Linked DNA regions of Homo sapiens: region 1 is linked to region 2. Evidence: promoter capture Hi-C in 16 types of primary human blood cells and fetal thymus (Javierre and others, 2016). All regions are on one chromosome and are shown on one strand. Each heading gives the region's core, a stretch centred on a gene start or on the middle of the fragment in contact. The rest is flanking DNA. Distances are from core to core; before and after follow the strand shown. Region 1 overlaps ANKRD17-DT (ANKRD17 divergent transcript). Region 2 holds the start of CXCL1 (C-X-C motif chemokine ligand 1).

What was found. Contacts are between HindIII fragments. The CHiCAGO score rates a contact against its expected background, and 5 or more counts as called.
Region 1: a fragment that was not itself captured here is called in contact with the fragment with the promoter of CXCL1 in region 2 in 1 of 17 cell types (fetal thymus); the score reaches 5.3 in fetal thymus.

The regions. Positions count from the first base shown.
Region 1 is chr4:73,308,217-73,314,458 of GRCh38, forward strand. The region is part of intron 3 of ANKRD17-DT (ANKRD17 divergent transcript); the gene reads left to right. Among named protein-coding and RNA genes, the nearest start is that of ANKRD17-DT, 52 kb to the left of the region's middle. The HindIII fragment of the contact is 1,961 bases long and covers 3,831-5,791 here.
Region 2 is chr4:73,864,776-73,870,642 of GRCh38, forward strand. It overlaps CXCL1 (C-X-C motif chemokine ligand 1), which reads left to right and starts at 4,618. Exons shown (of 4, transcript NM_001511.4): 1 at 4,618-4,795; 2 at 4,894-5,017; 3 at 5,131-5,214; 4 at 5,746-5,867. The coding sequence starts at 4,696. The coding sequence ends at 5,761. The HindIII fragment of the contact is 5,230 bases long and covers 1-5,154 here.

The sequences.
Region 1 (6,242 bases), core at 3,561-6,060, 560 kb before region 2:
CAAATGTGAGTATTACCCAAATAAAGATTCGAGATTTAAATTTTAACCTTAAGTATTTAAGTAATTTCACTCAAATAGTGATTTAATATAAGCAGAAGCGTTATCACTGCGATTCTCTGCTCTCCTTTGTGTGTTCCATCTTTTCTTCTAATCTCTCTTGTCTTTTCACCATACTGAGTCAGTTTAGTGCTAGTCTGCACCTCCCTCTAGAGTATGAAAATAGCAGTCACTTTTCACATTTTGAGGCAGAAATACTCTTCCTCAGAGGAACTTGATTAGTGCCTCCACAGTTCTGCTTTTCAGGGTTCAGCACCAAATTCTATTTTTGTCAGCAGTCCTCTTTGTCCTACCGGCTGGCATGGAAGCTGAAGAAGCCACTGAATCTGAGTCAGGCTCTGCTTGACACATTTAGAACAATTTCTCTGAGATAACAGTAAACAACAGAGAATTGTGACCTAGGAAGTTAAAATAAACTGAAGCAGCTCTCTAGAAAAGTGAGGAGACAGTAAATAAGGCATGAAATAAGGAATGAATGTTGCTAATTGTGTCTATGGGTACATCATATCTCCAGTCAACCTTCAAAACACTTTGAACTCAAATAAGCTGTAACATTTGGTTAGTTTCTATGCTCCTCATTCATAACATGCAAAAATGTGAATTCAGAATTAGTGAAGATTGTCTGCTTTTTGCTTGTTTCTAGAAACATTTTATTGTGCAGTGAGTTTTACCTCAAAGCTCTGGGATTTATTTGCAGGGATATATATATATATATATATATATATATATATATACACATGTGTATAGCATAGGCCAACATAAATAGACAGAGATAGACCAAATCTCAAGAGATTAAAGAAGATATGTAGGACAAAACACTCTTAAATATACCAACCTCCCACCTCCATTCTCAAATACATGCACGTCCTTGGTTGTCTTTCCTTTACCCCTACTTTTTTGGGAATACATGTAAAGAAAACAAAAAGAAAGAAAAATATAAACCTGTTGTAAAACACAAATAGGTATCAAAGGAAGAGCTGAGTTTAAAAATACAGAGATTGCTACCGATAAAATGCATAATTTTGGATACCAGTGGTTTCACCTACCAAGTTGATGGAAAAAAAATGCATTTTGCAATAAGTTAAGGAAATACATTTGAGGAGCCTTATACAAAAACCGTTTCCACTGTCTCTAAACAGTTTTTAAATGATTCATGTTAAAATACTTCACATATGCTCTGACTCATATAGATAGTCTTGAGCTAACATTCTTTTATCAGCTGGATGTTAATGCAAAGTTAGATTATATTAACTTTTATTTTAAGCATCACATTATATTTTAGTTCTTTGTGAGCCTGGAATCCACTAAAATCTGCCAATCTTTGTCACATAATCGTTATCCTATAACTCTGAGATTGAATTTTTGAACCTAAGAATGGAACTTTTTATTAATGACTGCCAAGTTTTATCTCATTTACTTCACTTCTTTATTCTAGTCAGTTGAGGCAATCATTTTGAATCTTGGCTGTCATTGGTCATATTATTTACTGCAGGAATTATAAAACTTTCTCTGTAAAAAGCTAGTAAATATGTTAGGCTTTGTGGGCTATGGATCTTTTTTATATAGTATTCCTTTTCTTTTATTAAATAAAATACAAACAATTCTTTTAGTTGTAAAAACCATTCTTAGCTCAAGGGCCATACAATGACAAGCCTCAGACCAGATCTGGCCCACAGGTTGTAATTTGCCAACCTCTGGTGAACTGTATTAGTTATCTGTTGCTGTGTAACAAATAGCCCTACCATTTAGTGGCTTAAAATACAAAATATTTTATCTAAATTGTGGTTCTGGAATCCACGGCATTGATTTGTCTGGGTACCTCTGCCTTGAGTTCTTTCCCAGGATATAATAAAGCAGTTGGCTTGGGCTGCAGTCTCATCAGAAGACTTGACTGAAATAGAATCTGCTTCTGAGTTTCTCATGTAGTTATTGGCAGGATACAGTCCCTAACGGACTGTTGGCCAGAGGTCCCCCCTTGCTTCCTTGCCAGGTGGGCAGTTCACAACTTGGTAACTAGATTACATCACAGTTGGTCAGCAAGAGGAAGAAAAAAGAACTTGCAAGATGGAAGCCACAGACTTTTTGTAACCTAATTTCAGAAGTGACGCCCATCACTCATGCTGCATTATATTGATTAGAAGTGAGTTCCTAGGTGCAGTTCACACACAAGGGGAGGGGATTTCACAAAGGTGTGAATACTGGAATGGCAAGAATGACTGGAGCCATCTTAAAGGCTGCCTACAAAACCTATCCACCCAAAATATTATACAACTTAGAAGAAACAAGTTTTCAATTTGTCCAAGTTTTTGATAAAAACATCCAAGAAGGGGTGTTCATGACTGACTTTTGTGGCATGCTTTTTTTCCCCCAAGATTGATTCCAGTCCATTAATACTATGAATATTGCTGATTGCCTAACTGCAAATTCTCAGTGGTGCTATCATAAACATTTTGTCATCATATCCTTGGAAATCTTAAGAGACATTTTTGTCAAATTCATTTTAACAATCATGCTGTTTCTGCTTCACTGGACAGGTGAAATTAAGTTAAACTGAGTCTCAAGGACTGTCTTGAAGAATAAAATAAGTCATAGCAGTACTATAGCTCAAATAATGTCATAAATAGAGAGAACCAGTTTTATCTGCCTTGTCTCCATGACAGGAAGTTTTAAGACTGTTTGCATCCTATATGAGCCTCAATTTTTTTAACCAACTGGTAAAGCTGCCTTTTCCTCCACTTCCATATATGCTTTTATAGAAAGATGTATATTTTCTTAAGAGATCAAATCAGGGATGAATTGGACTTTACAAATATTGTAACAGTAAATCGCAATCATAATTTGATTCAAGGATCTTTCAAAATTAGAGAATACCAGTTATTGATAGCTGCTATCTAGATAGCAACAATATACCATTACAATGTTTCTACTACTTCAAAAAAAAAAGTATAATGCTCTAACCCAAACTGCCAACAAAAGTACTGTCATTTTAAATGCTGTGTCACTCAAACTTCAATCTAACAACCTACGTTTTGCAACTCTTTCCCCCTTAAGCAATATAATTATTACTACCCATTGGGTGTATAATATGAGTGACATGCTGCACTAAACAACTGTATTACGATCTTCTCGTTAATTCTTCTTAACAACTCTGGCAGGTAGGTACTATTATTATGTGCATTTTACAGAGATTAAGCAACTTGCCTGTGGTCATCCAGCTAGTAAATGATGAAGCAAAAGTTTGAAGCCTAGTAGCCTAAATTGAGCCCTTTCTTTTCAAGCAGAGACACAAATGTAATATTTGTTTATTTAAGAACTGCTAAGGAAACTTTTCCTAGGAAACATGGTTGAATGATTCACATAAAGTATAGTTAATTTTTTTTCAGTTTGAAGCCACTAGATGGCAATATTTGCAAATTTTGTTTTTCTTTTTACTTAAGGTGGAAAAGTAACTCCACAGTATTAGTGACTAGTTTTCTGTGAAGAAATTATTTATCTTTGATTTGCCAAATATAACTGTTATTTGTAGGAAGATTTTTCAGTGACATGATGTAATGTGACCATAGCAGTTTCAAGTGGGACAAAAATTGGAGTGTTATCTGCTATTTCATTTAATTTTTGTTTTACTTTAGTTTGAGGTTGAAGGGAAGTTCCTAGAAACTTAAAATTTCTTCCTGGAGGTCCTCCCTCATGCTACAACACTGCCATGAAGTCCTGTTTGTTTAATATCAAACATGACAAACACTTACTTTTCAGAAAAATAGTGTGCTATAACAAGCTTTAGTGACTTTAAAAACATAATTTGTATTGCCTGGAATGTACCCCTCCTCTTTTACATCATACATTCCTGTGTATCTTTTAAATCCTAACTTACATATGTATCTTTTTCCTCTGTGATGTCCCTTCCACAAGCACAGGCAGATTCTTCTAACAGTACCACCTCAGTCCCATACCATTTGAGGCTTTGATACATTATACATGTCCTAATGATATACATTTGTGTTTATCTTCACTCTCCTTTGGGAGCACTTCAAAGGCAGTCTTTTAAAAATTCATATATGGAGCCGGCCGCGGTGGCTCATGCCTGTAATCCTAGCACTTTGGGAGGCCGAGGCGGGCGGATCACGAGGTCAGGAGATCGAGACCATCCTAGCTAACACGGTGAAACCCCGTCTCTACTAAAAATAAATTCAAAAAAAATTAACCGGGTGTGGTGGAGGGCGCCTGTAGTCCCAGCTACTCAGGAGGCTGAGGCAGGGGGATGGCATGGACCCAGGAGGTGGAGCTTGCAGTGAGCTGAGATTGCACCACTGCACTCCAGCCTGGGCAACAGAGCGAGACTTCGCCTCAGAAAAAAAAAAAAAATCATATATAAAACTCTCAGTTTCTCAATACCTAAATAAAAAAAATCATATTAGCATATCACAAGCTATTTATCTAATCCTCTACCGATGACATTTGATTTCTTTTCACATGTTTGCTTTTACATACAATGCTTCAAAAAAGTCTTTGTTTTTGTCTTGCACGTGTGTGAGAATTGCATTAGAAATTCTAGAGATCAAATTTATGCATAATAGGGTACATATGGTGCACACAATTTTAATCACACTTGACATTTGTCATTCATTTTGGCTGCTCGTCAACTAATATGCCTATGTTTTGGGAACTTTCCATTTTATGAGTATGGTGGGAGGCCGACCCTGTTTTCCACTATAAACACTGAAAATGCCAAATACTTGCTTCGTGAGCTTCCTTTGCACCTAGGATGTGGGCACATGGTCTTGTTTCTCTGCTTGAAATTGAGAGCCAATGCATCAGAAGAGAGGACTCTGCACAGCTGTGTTGATTGTTGCAGCAGGACTAAACTTTGTATCAGTAATGGAAGCTATGCTATTAGTGGCATTTAGTACACAGAGCCAGTTCTGTGTGCAGTGCAGGTTGCAACAACTTTTGTTTGGTGAAGGCCACAGTGGGGTTCTCATTAGATCATTTCTATGGTGTGATTTTGAGCATAGTTTTTGGTGCAAAGCCCTGTCCCTAATTGTCTAGGATTCCTAATGATTCTATGAACTACCCCCAAATCCTTGTAATAATGTCCTATTCTGCTTCATCAGTTGAACTTGGTTATTTTTTGTTTCTAGCTAAAAATCCTGACTCTTATAAATTGGTATCAGGAATGGGCTGGAGGTGTTGTTTCTAAAGACGCTGAACAGCTAAATAAAAAAGGAATGACATTCTCAAAATTCTAATTTAGGGCATAGATTGAAAACCAGCTAAAAGAATATCTCCTTTCTTGCAGCCACAGGGTTGAGATAGTCAAAGATCAAATTCAAAGTTTAATTATATAGGTTTCCAAATTCCAAACTCAGCTGAATTCACAGTCTTGTGTAGTATGTGAAAGTAAGAGTTTGATAATGAAAGAGTAGTGTCCCCCCAAACTAAAATGGGATACATGAAAGGATTTAATTTGATTGACTCAGAAAATACTGATTCCTCTTCATAGAGACTCCCTTGCCTCCAGGAGCGCTTACCTTCATTTGACTCATGAGATTGTTCTTACCTTGCTTTACAACCCTGTCACAACTTTACGTAAGGAAGTCATATTGCAGGAGGAAGCCAGTCCTCTTCTTGCTCTACTCTTAACACTTATTATGTCTAGACCAATAATGAAAACCAGATCCTCAGCTTGAACTTGTATTAGGGGAGTGATATTATAGCATAACCCCCAGGATGATAAAGCTTGTACTTTAAAATAGTTTAAGAAAAATATTATTTTAGTTCAGTGATGAAAAGAAGATTTGGTTAATGTATACATATAAATAAGGGAGGAATGTATTTTAAGACGTAACTGAAGTTACCAGTATGGGTAACCTTGTCAGAAATTAGTCTTTTAATATCCTAGCTTAAACATATGGGAGTAGTTTTAATTGTTTTCTTGTTTGGTTGACTGAAATCCAGACCATAGCTCATATGAACAGAAATGGACCTGCTCTAGAGAAGAAAAGATATTAATACAAGAGTTAAAAGACTTGGGTAGAAATCTTAAGGTAGAAGTAGTGGATTAATTTGTTGTTTGCATTCTGCTCTCCTCACTCCTAATAAAATCCCTCAAGAGGGTTCAAGAGATAACCTCTTCACCAAATCTGTTAGAAATAGATTAGACAGTAGTCTGGGTGCAGTGGCCCACT
Region 2 (5,867 bases), core at 3,368-5,867:
GTCATTCAACTCTTGAAAAAAATTAGCTTGGAGGAACATTTGTTCCAACAAGACAATGAATTTGTTTATTTTTCCAGGCTACAGCATTCCTGTGCTTATAAATTTTGAATTTTGGTTTATGCGGATTTCATTGATACAAGTGGCATATTAAGGAGGAAATAACAACAAAAAATTCTTTCCATTCCAATTCATTTACACAAAATGTGATTTTGATGAAAATTTTCCTGAGTCAAGTTCTGTCTAATCTGCGGATGCCCACTGCTTCTTGACATGCTTAATTCGCTTCATTCTCTTGGCAGCTCCTGTGGAGCTCTGCTCCCCCTGAGCGCTCTCATTGCGTCAGTTTTGGGTTGGGTCCTGAGATGATTACAGCAGAAACACTTGTGTTTTTCTCCAGTTACCAGAACTAGATGAGAGATTTGGGCAGCGTGATTAATGATGAAGGCAAACTATTTAATCCTATGAAACATGATGAAGTGTCCAAACTCGGCAGTAGATATTTTGGATTTTCATATTTGAACAAACAGGCACTAAACGAAAATTCAGTTTCCTCTCTAAAAGCTAGCAGATGAAACACGCATGGCCATTTAATTTTGGTGGCATTCTAAATGAATTCAGAAAGAGAAACTTTTTAAAAAATAAACTATTTTAAAAAAAGAAACTAAAAAATAAAAAAATTATTTTGAAATAATTTTAAGTTTATAAAAGTTGCAAAGTCAATACAGTATCTGTGTATCTTTCACCCACTTTCCTTTAAAGTGAACATTTTACAATATCATGGTATAGTCGTCAAAGCTAAGAAACCACCGCTGACACATTACTTTTAACTGAACTGCAGATTTTATTTGGGTTTTGCCAGTTTTTCCGTTAACATCCTCTTTCTGTTTCAGAATGCAAACCAAAGTACCACACTGCAGTGGATTGTCATATCTCCATAATTTCCTCTGGACTGTGATGGTTCTTCAATCTGCCCTTATTTTTCATGACATTGACAATTTTGAAGAGTACCACTCAGCCATTTAAGATTCTTTGATTTAGGTTTGAAGCATGCTTTTCTCATGATTAGACTTGGGCTATTAATTTTTGAAAGAGCACCAAAGAGGTATGCTGTTCTTGTGACATCATATCAAGGGGGTACATGATATGCACATGACATCACACTGATGACGTAAATCTTCCTCATTTGGTATAGGGCGAGTTTACCAGGTTTTCTCATGGCAAAGTTACTATTTTATTTTTCAGAATTGTGTACTTCAGGAAAATATAACAAGCTATTTCAATGCCACAGGAAAGATATGCTGTTAGTGAAACAAAATTATAGAGATGTGTGACCATTTTGCTGTGTTTTCATTTAAGAATATGTAAATTTGAACCATTCAACTAGGGCAATAACAGATTTTTTAAAATCATTCTACTCTTGAAAGTATTAATTATATATCACAGAGTGTTTTTATCATAGTATAATAGTTAAATGCCATTTTATCTGACTTTGATTTCCAGGCTCAAGGATGTATGACCTTAGGCAAGTGACTTAACCTCTCTGCACCACAGTTTCTTTATTTGCAACTTAAAATCTCATAGACACAACAATATCTACTGATACTGTAGTTATCAGTACAAGCACAGGCTTGTTTGGAAGACTGAATGAGTTAATATTTGTAAACTGCTTAGAAGAGCAGAAAATAAATGCTCTGCCCTTTGCCTCGGGTGTAGAGGTTTAGCAATTTGCCCTTGGTATGCAGCAGCATAATCAAGGAAGCAGCATATTTTTTATTTACCAGAATTCTGTAAGCTCTTATAATTTAGCTCCTTTGTTGAAGAAAAAAAAGCAAATTTTCAGCGACCTGTGAATGTTTGTTTCATAGACAAAGTGAAGAGACATTAGAGAAGAAAAATCTCTTCTTGCCTTTTTGGTTTGTATAAACTTTATAAAATGAGCATATATTACAACTACAATTAGAAAACAAAACAATACATTTTTCAAGTTTTAAAGAATCATTTCCATGTTTCTGGAAATTTCAGTTTCCCATCAAATCCCAGAAAAAGAGTGATAATAAGAGGTGTAATCACTCAAACTTTCAATTATGCATGAGCTAGTCACACACTTAATAAACTTTAGATTATATGTCATTTCCTATTCCTTACTACTAATTTGAACCTTCCTCTAATTTTCTTGATTTTTCCCTTAGAGTCATATTGATAAATACTAGAGTTTTTTTAAAAAATAGTCATTCCTTTAGTACATCTTTTCAATAAATAAGATGAAGACTATTACATTCAAAGTCCCTTTTTATATACATGAAGTGATTGAAAGGTGGACTACAAAATAAACCAATGATCTGTCTGAACGGTAACAAATAAAATTTCATCTAAGTGTACCTCGTGGTAGAGTACATATTTGTCTTCCTTTCTGAAAGCCTGATACAGAAAATTTTATTTCAATTTTTGTAAATTCTCAGCTGAGTTTCTTTTTTAAAAAATTTAGATTTAGAAGTTTGCAGCATTGATTACAGCTTGAAACTGATGAAGATATTTGGGACACTGTATTTGGTCTCCATTGGGTCAATGCTTTTTCATTTATTCTTCCTGTTAAGAAATATAAGTAATCAGGAAGATGTGAAAAGAGAAATAATTGAAAAAGACTGGAGTACATATACTATCTACAGTGTCTGTTTTAAAGAAACAACATTCTAGCACACCTTTCTACCCTTGACTAAGATTACTGTAATGAGAGCACCAGTACCCCTGAGTAACCGAAAGGGCATTTTGGAAACTGAGCTTTTGGTGTTTATATGAACATTCTGTCTTCCAGGACCTGCCTTGATTTATTCAAGACTCATACTGCTGTATATGGTGTTGTATACATTAGGGGTAGTTGGGTAGCAGTAACTGATATAGAAAATTTTAAATGTAAAAAACACTGGGGAGTGAACCTTTCCATTATATATATATATATATATATATATATATATATATATATAAATATATAAATATATATATAAATTCACATCAGGATGAGTTTCTGTTTAGGCAATGTTGGAAAACGCTATTTCCATTTTTTTTTTAAACAAATATTTAACAAACATTTATAAGGCACTTAAATCCATGCTGGCTCTTACAAATGTTGACTCATTTCTCATAACCACCTTGGGGTAGAAACGGAGAGGCTAAACAATCTGCAGGCGATGCTTCACTACTAAATGCAGGTGGCAGCCTTGCCTGTGTTCTCTGCTTGGCTAGGAACACAGGTCTTACCTATTGAGCTGGGCTGTGTAGAACTCTGTTGTGGAGACATCTGCCCCTGGGGCAGAAGCCTCTGCTTTTTCCCCCTCCTCCCATCTTACTCCATGTCTCAGAGAGCTCTGAATCCCACTTGGAGAATCACACTTAAACCCTCTAAAAACCTAATGATGAATAAAAATAAGTTCTCTAGAACTTCTGGAGAAAAAAGTAATAAAGCTACCAGGTTAAATGACTGAAATTCCTGAGAGAAAACAACATGTGTGTGTTTCTCTAGAAAGGGGGCCCAATACTGAATACCAGGAAGTCCTATAGTAAATGGAATGTGACTCTATGTGGGATCCGGCGTTCCTATTTCATCCGAATGCATGTCTGCTGCTTCAGTGGGAAGGGTGCTTGCACACCAGGTACCCACTCCCTGGTGTCATGTGCTATGCAGTCCAAAGACAGAACCAGGAATGGTGAGCCCATGAGCCTGCTGGACCCAGCCCCTCCGAGGTCCGGAGTGACAACCAGTGCCGTATTTCTAGATCAAACCTGAACCCCTCCTACAGGGAAAAGATTTCCAGGGGATTTTGAAAGTTCCAACATTTTACAGGGAAGAAGGAAGATAAGCAGGATATGAAAGAAGAGTTCATGTTATACAGCCCTGGCTTCCACTGACGCTAACACTGGATTCAGCTTTTGACACTGATAATCTGTTGCCACCAAATGGAAAACGTAAACAAGATATTCTAAGTGTGGTTAGAGAATATGCAACACAAGGAACAAGCAGAACATTCTTCTCTGGAATCTGACATAATGGACTGTACTTTCACAGACAGCACTGATGTTAGATGTACGTGAAATAGGCTAAACTGAAAATAAGAAAGGCTGAGGCAGAGAGGATAATATAGCTCCAGCCTATCTCCCAGCACCTTGTTAATTTCTCTCAATCTCCAGCCACAAATCCGAGACACAACGCTCTTCCTCCAAAGAGGTCGCGCCTTCTCTGTGGTGGTTCTCAGGGATCCGCCCCAGCTCCTTCTCCGTTCCCAGCCCCACACACTGGGATCACCAGGCACCCAAGATCCCACCTCTCAGGTGGTATCTTCAGCGCAGGCTGCCACTCAGCCCCCCTCCAGGGATCTGGGGCAGAAGGCGAATATCCCAGAGTCTCAGAGTCCACAGGAGTTACTCTGAAGGGCGAGGCGCGGGCTGCATCAGTGGACCCCCACACCCCACCCGCACCCCAAGCGCTCCACCCTGGGGGCGGGGCCGTCGCCTTCCTTCCGGACTCGGGATCGATCTGGAACTCCGGGAATTTCCCTGGCCCGGGGGCTCCGGGCTTTCCAGCCCCAACCATGCATAAAAGGGGTTCGCGGATCTCGGAGAGCCACAGAGCCCGGGCCGCAGGCACCTCCTCGCCAGCTCTTCCGCTCCTCTCACAGCCGCCAGACCCGCCTGCTGAGCCCCATGGCCCGCGCTGCTCTCTCCGCCGCCCCCAGCAATCCCCGGCTCCTGCGAGTGGCACTGCTGCTCCTGCTCCTGGTAGCCGCTGGCCGGCGCGCAGCAGGTGGGTACCGGCGCCCTGGGGTCCCCGGGCCGGACGCGGCTGGGGTAGGCACCCAGCGCCGACAGCCTCGCTCAGTCAGTGAGTCTCTTCTTCCCTAGGAGCGTCCGTGGCCACTGAACTGCGCTGCCAGTGCTTGCAGACCCTGCAGGGAATTCACCCCAAGAACATCCAAAGTGTGAACGTGAAGTCCCCCGGACCCCACTGCGCCCAAACCGAAGTCATGTAAGTCCCGCCCCGCGCTGCCTCTGCCACCGCCGGGGTCCCAGACCCTCCTGCTGCCCCAACCCTGTCCCCAGCCCGACCTCCTGCCTCACGAGATTCCCTTCCCTCTGCAGAGCCACACTCAAGAATGGGCGGAAAGCTTGCCTCAATCCTGCATCCCCCATAGTTAAGAAAATCATCGAAAAGATGCTGAACAGGTGAGTTATGGTTTCCATGTACACAGGCGACTGGAGCCGTTGGTCAGAAATACTGGCATGTGCCCCCTAAAAATAAAATCAGGAAAACCCAGGGGTTAGTTGAAGGACTAGAAATTGGGATTATTGTTTTCACAATTAAGGTTTCCTTTACGATAATTACTGCTCTGGTGCCAGAGGATATTCCCAATGCCTGGCGTCCCCACCCTGGTTCTTCCTTCGTTCCAATGAATGTAGGTAAAACTGCCTTCATTTGAGGCCCAGTAGGACAAACAGCAACAGGTTCTGGCTGTTTTTAATCCAATAGTACAGTGGAGACCACCGCCCCACCCCACCCCCATTCCTAAAAGAGCATCCCAAGCTTAGAGGTCCCTGCCACACAGCACAGCTGTCATAGGCAGTAGCCACTTGGTTGCCAGGCTGGGGAAACTGCATTCGGAAAACTCTAGAGGCTGGAGGAGCAGGGCAGGAGAAGAGTGTTGTGCAATCAGCTTTCCCGAGCACCTACTCAGGGCACCCATTTTCTCATTGCAGTGACAAATCCAACTGACCAGAAGGGAGGAGGAAGCTCACTGGTGGCTGTTCCTGAAGGAGGCCCTGCCCTTATAGGAACAGAAGAGGAAAGAGAGACACAGCTGCAGAGGCCACCTGGATTG